Regions from separate parts of the Homo sapiens genome. Here all the other regions are linked to region 2. The links are contacts of gene promoters, found by promoter capture Hi-C in blood cells and fetal thymus (Javierre and others, 2016). All regions are on one chromosome and are shown on one strand. Each heading gives the region's core, a stretch centred on a gene start or on the middle of the fragment in contact. The rest is flanking DNA. Distances are from core to core; before and after follow the strand shown. Region 1 has its middle 84 kb from the start of LINC03041. Region 2 holds the start of BNC2-AS1 (BNC2 antisense RNA 1). Region 3 overlaps LINC03041 (long intergenic non-protein coding RNA 3041). Region 4 overlaps BNC2 (basonuclin zinc finger protein 2).

What was found. Contacts are between HindIII fragments. The CHiCAGO score rates a contact against its expected background, and 5 or more counts as called.
Region 1: a fragment that was not itself captured here is called in contact with the fragment with the promoter of BNC2-AS1 in region 2 in 1 of 17 cell types (endothelial precursors); the score reaches 7.0 in endothelial precursors.
Region 3: a contact is called between a fragment that was not itself captured here and the fragment with the promoter of BNC2-AS1 in region 2, in 1 of 17 cell types (endothelial precursors). The highest score is 6.9, in endothelial precursors.
Region 4: a fragment that was not itself captured here is called in contact with the fragment with the promoter of BNC2-AS1 in region 2 in 1 of 17 cell types (endothelial precursors); the score reaches 5.3 in endothelial precursors.

Annotation. Positions count from the first base shown.
Region 1 is chr9:16,359,205-16,361,904 of GRCh38, forward strand. No RefSeq gene overlaps it. Among named protein-coding and RNA genes, the nearest start is that of LINC03041, 84 kb to the left of the region's middle. The HindIII fragment of the contact is 1,834 bases long and covers 377-2,210 here.
Region 2 is chr9:16,725,537-16,728,236 of GRCh38, forward strand. It overlaps BNC2-AS1 (BNC2 antisense RNA 1), which reads left to right and starts at 1,278. Exons shown (of 3, transcript NR_151723.1): 1 at 1,278-1,419; 2 at 1,495-1,570; 3 at 1,779-1,988. BNC2 (basonuclin zinc finger protein 2) reads right to left here. Exons shown (of 7, transcript NM_017637.6): 3 at 2,261-2,461. RefSeq lists an enhancer at 861-1,362. The HindIII fragment of the contact is 1,636 bases long and covers 1,016-2,651 here.
Region 3 is chr9:16,245,182-16,247,881 of GRCh38, forward strand. All of the region lies in intron 1 of LINC03041 (long intergenic non-protein coding RNA 3041), which reads right to left. Among named protein-coding and RNA genes, the nearest start is that of LINC03041, 30 kb to the right of the region's middle. The HindIII fragment of the contact is 5,400 bases long and covers 1-2,700 here.
Region 4 is chr9:16,412,850-16,415,549 of GRCh38, forward strand. It overlaps BNC2 (basonuclin zinc finger protein 2), which reads right to left. Exons shown (of 7, transcript NM_017637.6): 7 at 1-2,700. It overlaps LOC124902125 (a long non-coding RNA gene), which reads left to right. Exons shown (of 3, transcript XR_007061425.1): 3 at 2,440-2,527. Among named protein-coding and RNA genes, the nearest start is that of LINC03041, 140 kb to the left of the region's middle. The HindIII fragment of the contact is 2,366 bases long and covers 239-2,604 here.

The DNA.
Region 1 (2,700 bases), core at 44-2,543, 370 kb before region 2:
ATCGAATCATGGGGGCAAGTCTTTCCTGTGCTGGTCTCATGATAGTGTATATGTCTCCTGAGATTTGATGGTTTTAAAAATAGGAGTTTCCCTGCACACACTCTCTCTCTCTCTCTCTCTCTCTCTCTCTCTCTCTCTCTCTCTCTCATCTGCCAGCACGTGAGACGTGCCTTTCAGCTTCCACCATGATTTGAGGCCTCCCTAGCCATGTGAAACTATAAGTGCATTAAACCTCTTTCTTTTGTAAATTGCCCAGTCTCGCATGTCTTTATCATCAGTGTGAAAACAGACTAATACAGAGCTGTTGTGAAGATAAAATGAGATGATGTCAATATAAATGAATATATTGCTGTGACAGACATTATTCTCAACCATAAGCTTTCAGCCCACTCACCTTGCACCCCAACTCCTCCAGCAGTGCTATCTTGGCTGAGCTCAGAGCATTATCAGTCACTTTTTAGACATTAGAAAAGTTTGATTCTCAGAAATCAATAAAGTTCAGATTCTCCTAACACTAAAACTTCAATTTCTCATCCAATTCAAAGGCTCTCTCTTTCCCCAGCTCAGGCCTACACCAGGCTCAGTAACCTGCAGTTGGGAAGCGGGGGGCTTTTCCTTACTCTCAGTCCCTCCTCCACTTCCTCTGGCCTCTCCAGGACTGCAGCAGAAGGAAGGAGGAAAGGTAAAGGGTGGTCTTAGACAGTTCAGACTGCTATAACAAAACACCATAAACTGGTGTCTTATAAACAACAGAGAATTTATTTCTCACAGTCCTGGAGGCGGGGAAGTCCAAGATCAAGTCACTGGCAGATTTGGTGTGTGGTAAGGGCCTCTTCCTGGTTCACAGAGAGCTATATTCTCACCGTAACCTCACATGGCAGAAGTGGTAAGGGAGCTCCCAAGGCCTCTTTAAAAAGCGCACTAATCTCATTTATAAAGGTTCTGCCCTCATGACTTAATTATCCCTCAAAGGCCCCATCTCCTAATACCATAGCACTAGGCATTAGGTTTCAACATATGAATTTAGGGGACACAAATATTTAGTTTATAGCAAGGACTAAAATGGTCAATTGACTTAGCTGCACTGTGAAGATCTGCATGAGGCCCTGTGTGTGGCAGATGGCCAAACCCTGACTGTCACCCACAGGCACTTCAGTGCCTTCCTCTACCTCCATGGAAGCACCTCCTCCCCAATCCCACCTCTACCCATGTGGCTGAGATTGCCCTTGGAAAGGCCGTCCTCTTGGGCATAGCCCTATCACGAGGCCTCTACTCTTAAGACTGCCCATCCATAGCGTCCACTTAGCTAGTGGGAAACTCAGCATCCTCACCCCTCCAATCCTGACAGTGTGTGACATGCCCACCTCAGCCTTTCTCCTCATTCTGCTAACCTTCTCCTTTGGACTTTTGCAGTTTCAGTACCTCCATGTGCCAGAGGATGCGGATTAATTTTGCCCAGAATTCTCTCACCATGTCTACTCCCACAGCAGCTATGGAAGTGTCTAGGTGTTTCTTCAGTTCCACGATCATTCAGCTAGAGGGTGAGGTGGAGTGATGAGTGAAATATCAGTCCCCTTCGGGCTAATCACCCCAAACTTGAGTTTTTCTGCTAGGAAATGTATCTCCCTCCACCAGGTAGCCCATTGTTTTCAAAGAGATGTTTACTCACTCTGACAGTACTGAGGATGACAGTGCTGACACTTATAGGCCCTCACTATGAGCTAAATACTGCTCTAAGAATTCTAGATGTAGAACTGCCTGGTCCATATATAATAACGCATTTAATCCTCACAGCATCCCTATGAGGTAGATGCTATAGTCACCCCACTTCATAGGTAAGTAAATGAAAGTACAGAGCTAAGTAATTTAGCCAAGATCTTGCAGCTAGTAGTAGCAGAGAGGAAACTTGAACTCAGACTCTCTGGGCTTTAGCTTTTGGACCCTAATCACAAATTCCTATTTCCTCTCCGTCTTTCTCTTAAGTAGAAGTGAAGAATGGACTAAAGCATCTGAAAATATGTTAGTCATTTTTTGGCATGTGCTGCAAATGTGTCTAGTACCCATCTTCAGAATGCAGGAGTATTTGTCGCTCTGTTCTCAGCTTTCAGTCAACCAAAATTCCATAGACAATAGTCAAAGTTCCATTTAATATACTGTTACATATATAAATCTCTTAGAACTTTGTCAACCATTCATCAACAATAAATGGAAGCTTCAAAGCTAGGGAGCTCATGGCCTGAAAGGGAGAAAAATAGCCAGGAAATAGAGCATCATAATACAGTATAGACGCTGTAGTATATAATTTTGTGTTATGAATTCCACAAATATTTATTAGAAACCTATTATGGGCTGTTAGGGGCTGAGGATATAATGATCAAATTGGATGAGGTTCCCATCCTGTGGAAAGTCCCTGCAATTGAAAGGAAAAATATTCTCTAGAAAGAAGGAATTTCGGTTATCTATTACTACATAAACTAACTCAAATTTAGAGGCTTAAGATGACAACCACCATTTATTGGCTCATAATTCTACAACTTGGACAAGGCTCAGAGGGGCCCTCCTAGGGTCTCTTAGGTGGCTGCAATCCCCTGAGAACTCAGCCAAGGAATATCCATGAAGGCATCACTGACATGTGTGGCAACTGGTGCCAGCTGAGAGCTGGTGTGCGTAGATTTTCCTCCAAGTGGCTTCCTTTCCTCC
Region 2 (2,700 bases), core at 28-2,527:
TTTAAAACTGTGATTTCTCTCCTTTTGTTGTACTACTCTATTTCATAAATAGCATAATATTATACAGTTTTAATAGCATCCATTAAGCATAAATTAGTTCCCTATATTTCTATTCTCTCCATATAATCACTGATGCTCACCATTACACATATATGCACACACAGGTACACACAAAATATCCACACAGTCAGACAGCTGGATCAAAGACATCATAAATTGTCCTAATTCTGACCCATCATTTATATTACTTTATTTGTTTTTTAGTTAAAATGTTTTCCATGACAAAATCTCCTTAGATTCAAATCTACTTGGAAATGGGCTAGTGCCAAATAAGCAATCTAACACCATCTATGTGGTTCAATAGCCATTTATCAATTGATCATTATCTCTATCTGGTTTTATTAACTCTTTTCTAGCTAGAGGGAGACGTAAGCCAATCTTCCCTTCTAACACACACACACACACGCACACACACACACACGACCTCCACTAACTCAAGGAAAACCCTGAAGGTGACATCTAGTTTTAAAAGTGAAGCACAAGTTATTTGGTACTAAGGTTAGCGAAAACACTGCATTCCAACACGCGAGAGCCACCCAGGCAGGGATGCGTCGCGGAAAACACCTCTCACAGCGCTCTGCAGTGACAAGGAGCATCTCTGTGTGGAAATGAACTTTTCACTTGAAAGAATGGGAAATTGCACATGAAGAGTTACTTATTGGGTTGATGTTGATTGCATTTAAATCCCAGCTTACTGTATCAGCAGTAATCAGGGTCCCTCTACAGGATATGTCAAAATATACCTTATTCAAATGCATTTATCCTATTTAGAATTGTGTGCTAAAACTGTTCTCTAGCTAAATGCTACAAAACCCTGGTTGTAGGTATTATCGCTTGCAAATGTATTTCTAAACTTGTAGTAGTTTATAGCCTGGCAAATTGTTTTTTTTTTATTATCAACAACTTTAAATATCTAACTCAAAGTATTTAATTTTCGTGAACTCTTACAAACAAAAGCTTTTTAAAAAAAAAAAAAAAAAAAGCAGTTGCAGTATTTTTTTCCTCTTGAGTGGCACAACATTTCTTAATAACCGCCGTCAACTTAAAATCCAAGTATATTTGTCAATAGTACTTTCGTGCTGTGTGGATGATAATATCAAACTAACTTGCTTTGTGTGTGGATGATAATATCAAACTAACTTGCTTTGTGTGGGTTTGGTGTAGGCTTTGGAAAAGCAAGACGTGTCTAGGAGGGAGGCACCAGGGAACTTCCCTCCCTCACTTGAGCACAATCCAAGATGAAAGTTTCTGGGTTGTGTCCCCTTCGCTTCCTCTCACCCTCGCTCCCCCGCGGAGCCAAGGAGCCAGCAATTGTGCAAGAGGAGACCGGCGCACAGGGCGCGTATCACGGAGCGCATGGTACGAGCCGCCGGCTCCGGTGATTAATTATCAGTAACCGATGGCCTCGCGCTACCACGTCGGCTTTCCCAGCAGAGCCAGCAAGCCGAACGCCTCCAGCGCGGCCGGGACGGAGGAGCGGCTCTGGGGAAGACGCCGAGGCTGCGCCCGAGTGAGTGCGCCGGCGGGCCGGCGGGCGGGCGGGAGAGCGGGCCGGAGCCGGCGAAGGGAATGCAGGGGCGGGCGCAGAGGGCTGGCTGGCAAGGAGGAGCGGAGCGGAGGAGCGAGGACCGAGCAGCACAGCCCGCCACGCACGCCGACTCCTCCAGCAACCCTCGGCGCTGGCAGCCAAGCCTGCACAGCCTCGTCTCTCTTCTCAGGTCTGAACGAAGCTGCCTCCAGCCACATGAAGTCAGTAGGGCTGTTCTGAGGGGCCCCGAGATTTGATGACTGTTTTTTAGGTTGCGGAACCTACTCCGAGAGAGCAAACACTTTGGACGAAGTGATTCATATTGATAGATACATTTGTTGGGAGGTGGCTTTTTTCATTCTCAACAGAAAACAAAGAAATAAATTAAGTCTTCCCCTGACCCAGATTGTACTGTGAAACTTTTCAACAATGTCTCTGCTTTCTTTTACTTCGGTATCCTTTCCCCTTTTTCTTTTAAGACGCCCTTAGGGAAACCATGAAGTAACCCTGCACATTCCAGTAACACAGTTATGACAAAACAAGAGCCTAACTAGGAAGTGACCACATTTTAAAAAGTATTTAGAAAGAAAAACACCAGAAACAAAAGTGCCCATAACAATTCAAGGTTTCTTAAAAAAAAGAAAAAAAAAATCAAGAAAGAAAGTAACTTACCTGTTGGGACATTCTGAATAAGAGGTTAGTATCAGCGTTTTGCCATGTCCCCATGAACCCTGGTTCAGCCGTAGTCGTTCTGGTTCCGAACTGCATGGAGTTGTCAGTACAGGAGTCTCTTAAAGTCAAGTCTCTTGCCCTCTTTGGCTCTCTGTCTCTCTGTGTCTCTCTTTCTCTCACATCCACTTCTGCCTCTTCTGACTGAAAAGTGAAGGTGGATTTTTTGAGCCTCTTGGCAGCCAGTAGCAGGAGTGTAGTGTAGTTAAGAAGCTGGCTGAACTGTGCATTTCATTTGGGAAGGGGGAGATTTGGGGGAGGGAGGGGGTCAGAGCTTCTTTCGCACCTTCTGCACAGATATCCCTATCATTTATGCATAGATTGTGACTCCCCAAGCTTGCCTTTGCTCAGTTTAACAGCTGCCTGTCAGGTGTGCAGGCGGC
Region 3 (2,700 bases), core at 56-2,555, 480 kb before region 2:
GGCCAATTTCTAGTTTCTTGCTTATGCCATACATTTTGGGTCTGAAGTTCAACAGGAATCAGGCAATCTCCCAGCTTTTTCTAACACTCTCAGAATTCACCTCTTCACTCTTTATGGCCTTCCACTGTCTGAGAGCTTGGAGGTAGCTAGGGGTCACCTTGGAGGGCAAGCATATGGCTTGGAAAGCATTCTCTTTGACTCACTTTACCTCCCACCCAGCTCTATGCATTGTATAGATTTTTTAAGCCAAACACATGAAAGGCATGGACACAAGTCGTCCACGGAAGTTTCACCACCAGTTCAACTCTTGTAATTAATTAGCCAGTAAATTCAGTAACATTTTAAAGAAGAGTAAATTCAATCAAAGAAACAGGGAATTCAGTTCAGTCATAGGTTTAGATTTTGCTCCCCCACTTTTTTTGGTTAGTTGTGGCTGAGCCACCACTGCAATTGAGACAAAACGGTTGGATCTGTCTTACATCAACCTCCTTTAAGCACTTTCAAGTAACTTGCCTTGACCAGAGAGCTAAGAAGTAGGCATTTCACTACCTTTTCAGCAAATGGTGATTTTCTTTGTCAGCCCCATAAAGTGAAAGTTCTAGCTGTTCCTAGGAGAAAAAAAAAAAGCTCAGTTTCACTGTCAAGGCCAAGAACTGGAAGCCAGAACACTTAGAGCTCTTGGTTCTGTTGCATGATTAATTCTCCATGAAGGCATTTAATTTTCTCTCCCTCATCTTCTGCATCTGTAAAATAGGAGTAAGCAATACCCTAGAGTTGCCAGAGATCAATGGGCAGGGACAGGCATTAATGAGGCAGCATATGAAATATTCAGTGAGATTCTTGGATAAGGAGTTACCAATGATTACATGCTTGCTTACCAACTTCCAGATTTAGCAAATCTGTATTGTTAGTACATACTAAAAATTAAAGGACAGCAAGAAATACAAATTTAATTTGTAAAAAGTCTTCAATTACTGGTTTGGAAATGCCCCTTGGAGATACAGGCTTCATTCTGGCTTGCTTTTCAAACTCAGTCACTAACCACAGGGTGTGAGGGTCCCGCTCCTGCAGTCTTCAGGGCCATTGGCTCCACTCTCCACCCCCTGCTTTGTGCTACAGCTTCCAATCTGATTTCACAATAAAAGGTCACACAGCTGCCTTTGGCTGCCAAGTTTCAAATATGCCCTGATGTTAACCCTTTAGAGGCTACAGAGCAGTGGCATTTTTCTCAGTGCTGTTCCAGTATTCACATAAATGGGTCATCTAAGTTCCAAGAATATGCATGCCCTCCACCCTCCACATAGGACTCCATAAAACCATTACATTTGAATGAGAATGTAAGATGCTTCCAAAACTACATTGATGCTATTTCCTAAATTGATTTTTTTGTGAAGAAAGTTGTGTTGTAGTGTTCCACCCTCAGAGTGTCTTAACCAGTGAGCATCTTGTAGACAGTCCTTCCCCGATATTCTGCAACACCTCACCCCATCCCTCCAAAGTCTTTGGGGAATGAAGAAGGCTAGAGCCACCAGCTTCCCTCAGAGAGGAGACCTGGGCTTTAGGCTTCCTGAACCTCATTCTGACTCTCCTTAATGTTCTTCTTTATCCTGCTTCTTGAAAAAGCCAACTTGGAGCATATGTGGACAAGCTCCAGAAAACAGTGTGCTCTCATCAGTGAGCCCATCTAGTGGGGAAGGCAAACAGAGTCATGCACCCGGATCCCCTTGGTGGAACCAGGCCAGCAGTCAGCTTAGAATGTCTAAGGAAGGAGACTCCAGCAGCCAATCTAACCTCACAACCCCACAACTCCTCCCTGCCTTGAATCACTCTTTCCCCGCTGGCCCACAGAGCTTTGATGCAGCCCTTCAGAGACCTGGGTGCATTGCTGACACGACTGTCTAGCCCACTCCCCTCTGAGACCTCGTGGGAAGTGTTATGATTTTCTCTGTGCTCCTCTGTGCCTAGCACCGTGCCTGACACTTTAGAAGCCCTAATTGTCCGTCAGATGAATCAACAAAGATAAAATATCAGTTGACAATTAACCTGCTTCAAAGGATGAACAACTCTATTTCTGGAAACTGTACTGAAGTAATTGGTTCACAGATTAAATTGCTAAAGTGCTTACTGGACAAGTTAGTGAGTGACTTTTTTGGCACACTTCATAATAAGTGACACATCTTTGACTAGTCACCAGGAATGTGAGTTTATCCACCAAGCATTTATTGAGACTCGCGTACGTGCCCAGGAGTGTTCCAGTACCGTGGGGGAGGGTAGCAGGGAAAGGGAAATAGAACAGAATTGTGAGTCCTGGGTCCTGTCCTCCAGCATCTTAATCCTAATGAGGAGGAACAGATTCAGAAAGACTGTGGCAGAACACTTGTGACACTCCAAGCTGGACCCTCAACCCTGGACAAACTTGCTGTGATTTAGACATGGCTCAGCCAGCCAGGTTGGTTCTGGCCACAGTATCTCTGGACCACATCATGTCACAATGCAGTATGGTCACATCATTAAAACATCCAGACATGCCTTCAACCATTATATAGCCAAACCAGTGTCTGTGGGGAGATGAGTGGTTTCAGTGAAATCACAAGTCTGAGAGCAGAAATGGCAAATGAAGAACTTCACTGAGCAAAACCCCTGGAAAAGCGAGGGGGCCATGCCAGCCTCTTCCTTCAGAGCTCAGAGCTGCTGCCTCTT
Region 4 (2,700 bases), core at 172-2,671, 310 kb before region 2:
GATAAACAGGCAATTACGCATCCTTTTATATTTGATGGCCAAGTGCTGAACTGGAAAGCACACTATTAGTTTGTGTCCCTTCAGGGCCAGGGCAATAAGTAGCCAGGAGAGCTGGGCTGAAGCAGAGAGGGTGTTGTCTGCTGTTAGTGTGACAGTCTTGTCAGCAGCGTTCACATTACTGGAAGGTAATAAAGTGACAAGTATGTTATTAGAAAGATACGAGGTGAAATTGAACTGAAGCTTCTTGCTGCTCAGCCCTGGCTTTTTTCTTTCCTCTTTTGTAATGGTCCACTATTTGTTACAGACTGAGCCTTGGTCTTCATATCCTATATAAAAAAGATTTTTTTTTTTCCTGCAGTAAAGGTCAAATGAATTTACAACAGCACTTTAGAGGAGAAGAATAAAGATAGTTTTATGACAACTATAGTATGTTGCTCCAAAAATATATATAGCATTATAATGAACAATAATGCTGATCCAATTCAGTGTACATGTAAAAATGCTTAGTTTTTTTTTTTTTTTTAACCTCCTGTTATTTGGATTTGGATTAAAATCATTTGGATTAAAAAAGATTTGGATTAATCTTTTGGATTAAAAGCATTTGGATTTTTCAACAAATGCCAAAAAGACAGTATGCCGAATAACATAGTTATTGCCGAATGAGCACAGAAAATCATTTTGCGCAAGATGTGGGAAGGATGAGGATGATGAAACTACACAAGGAAGGACGGGTATGTGGGCAACAGTGATGACAGATAACTCACTGGTCAGTTGTACAGCTGGAATTACACAATACTTTTTGAAAATGACCATTTATGGTGAGCAACACTCCAGCTACAGGAAATATGCGACTCGTCTGGGACAGATCAAACATGACCTTAGTACTAACGCAAACAAGACTACCACGTGTGGTTTATCTCTGAGGGAAAATGTGAAGAGAAGTTACTTACATACCTCATAGAACAGTAAATGAGCTCCCATTTTGATCAAGGTCTTTAGCCTAGTATTAATTACAATCATGGCTTTGTTGTGTTGCTACAGTGGCAAGCATGAGTAATGATCAAGAAAGGAACGATCCATGCTGGTGCCATTCGCACCTACTCCTCTGTTAGGATGAAAACGAGGTGTTACCACTGGCCTTTTCTATAGCCTTGCTGACCCCTGGCATCTTTCGGTTCTCAGGGGATTCCAGCAACACTTCCCACTCAAAAACAAAGCAAAAGCAACCAAAACCCCACAATTGTCGGCTCTTCCTGACCCCAAAGGAACTTCAGCTATTTCATGCAGCTGTACTTGCTTTCCTAACCCCTTCCTCAGAGCCGACTCACCTGGTCATAGGAACTCTGCAGGTCCCTACGATCAATACGCTCTCACCCACTGCGAGGCAGAGCTATGCCAGTCTTTTCTCTCGAGCCAACATTTCCAGTGCATTCATGATTTCCTTTTCTAGCTACCCCAAAACCAGGGCAGGAACCGACCCTCTACTTAGTTCTGATGAAAACACTGTGATCCCTCCAGTCTTTCTGGTATCTTTTATTGCTCATCTTACTCATTTAGATCCATCCCCAAAAAATAAACAATGAGAGGGAAAAGCAAAACCACCTAATTTAAATACTTCAAGTTTGGGAGAAGATAAGTGATTTTAAAGAATGAAATTCGTTTGTCATAATTTTAAAAAAGAAGCTCTTAAGAAAAGGGTGTGACCACAGGATGAAAAAAAGTTTCTTCTGGATGATTTGTTTCTTGATGATAGCAGATGTAGCGTGTCTTATGACAGGTGAATTTTATTTACTCTGTTAGTCAATCTAACCCAATGCTAACAGACCAGATACAAGTTAGGACTGCTCAGGTCAAGCTGTCAGCAGTTAGCAGCATGTCCATCTCAATCTGGTGACTAGCTTCTTTATGCTTTAATTGTCAACGGCCCTCATTCTCATTTGCTTGGCACATATCTGGGGTGTGTACAGAGAAAGGGGAAAAAAAGGTCACATTGTATTTGGTGGGAACCTAGTGCATAGTTTCTCCTGAGGAGAAGCCTCTGGAATAGCCCATTCTTGATATATTCAAAGTTTTTTTTTTTTTTTTTTCCTTAGAGCAATGTATAATAATGGGGCTGTTAACCAGTTAAGTGCCTTTCTCCTCTTACTGGAAGGGCCTGAAAATTCATGACCAAAGAAATAACACTATGAGGACAGTGGCACCATTGTGCCAAAAAGGTTTTAAAAAATGTTTGCCATGTTGAAAAGGAAAACATTAACACCTTTAAACCTTTAAAAGGCATCAGGCTGAACAGGGCAGCTGGACTAAGATCTGGAATGAGTTACATTGGGTTGACTTATTTAAATACAATTAATATCAGAACAAAGAATGCCAAGGATTTTTATCACACTTTTAAACCAAATTCCTCATTATCTATCCTTTTTTTCTCTCTTTCCATAGCATGCAGATATTCCCGAAAGCGGACTAAACCTGATATTTACAAAAACATAGTTTTAAATGATCAAGACAGTACAAGTTTCAACATCAGCTAGAGAACATGCACAGTCATACCGCCTAATTTTGTACCTGTGATAAACTCTGGCTAAAACCAATCACATGGGGAAAAGCTTGTCGGATGAACATCTACATCACTATTAATTTTCAGCCAGCATAGAATGCATGTGGCTTGAGAGAAACTGTTTAACAACAAAAAACTCCTAT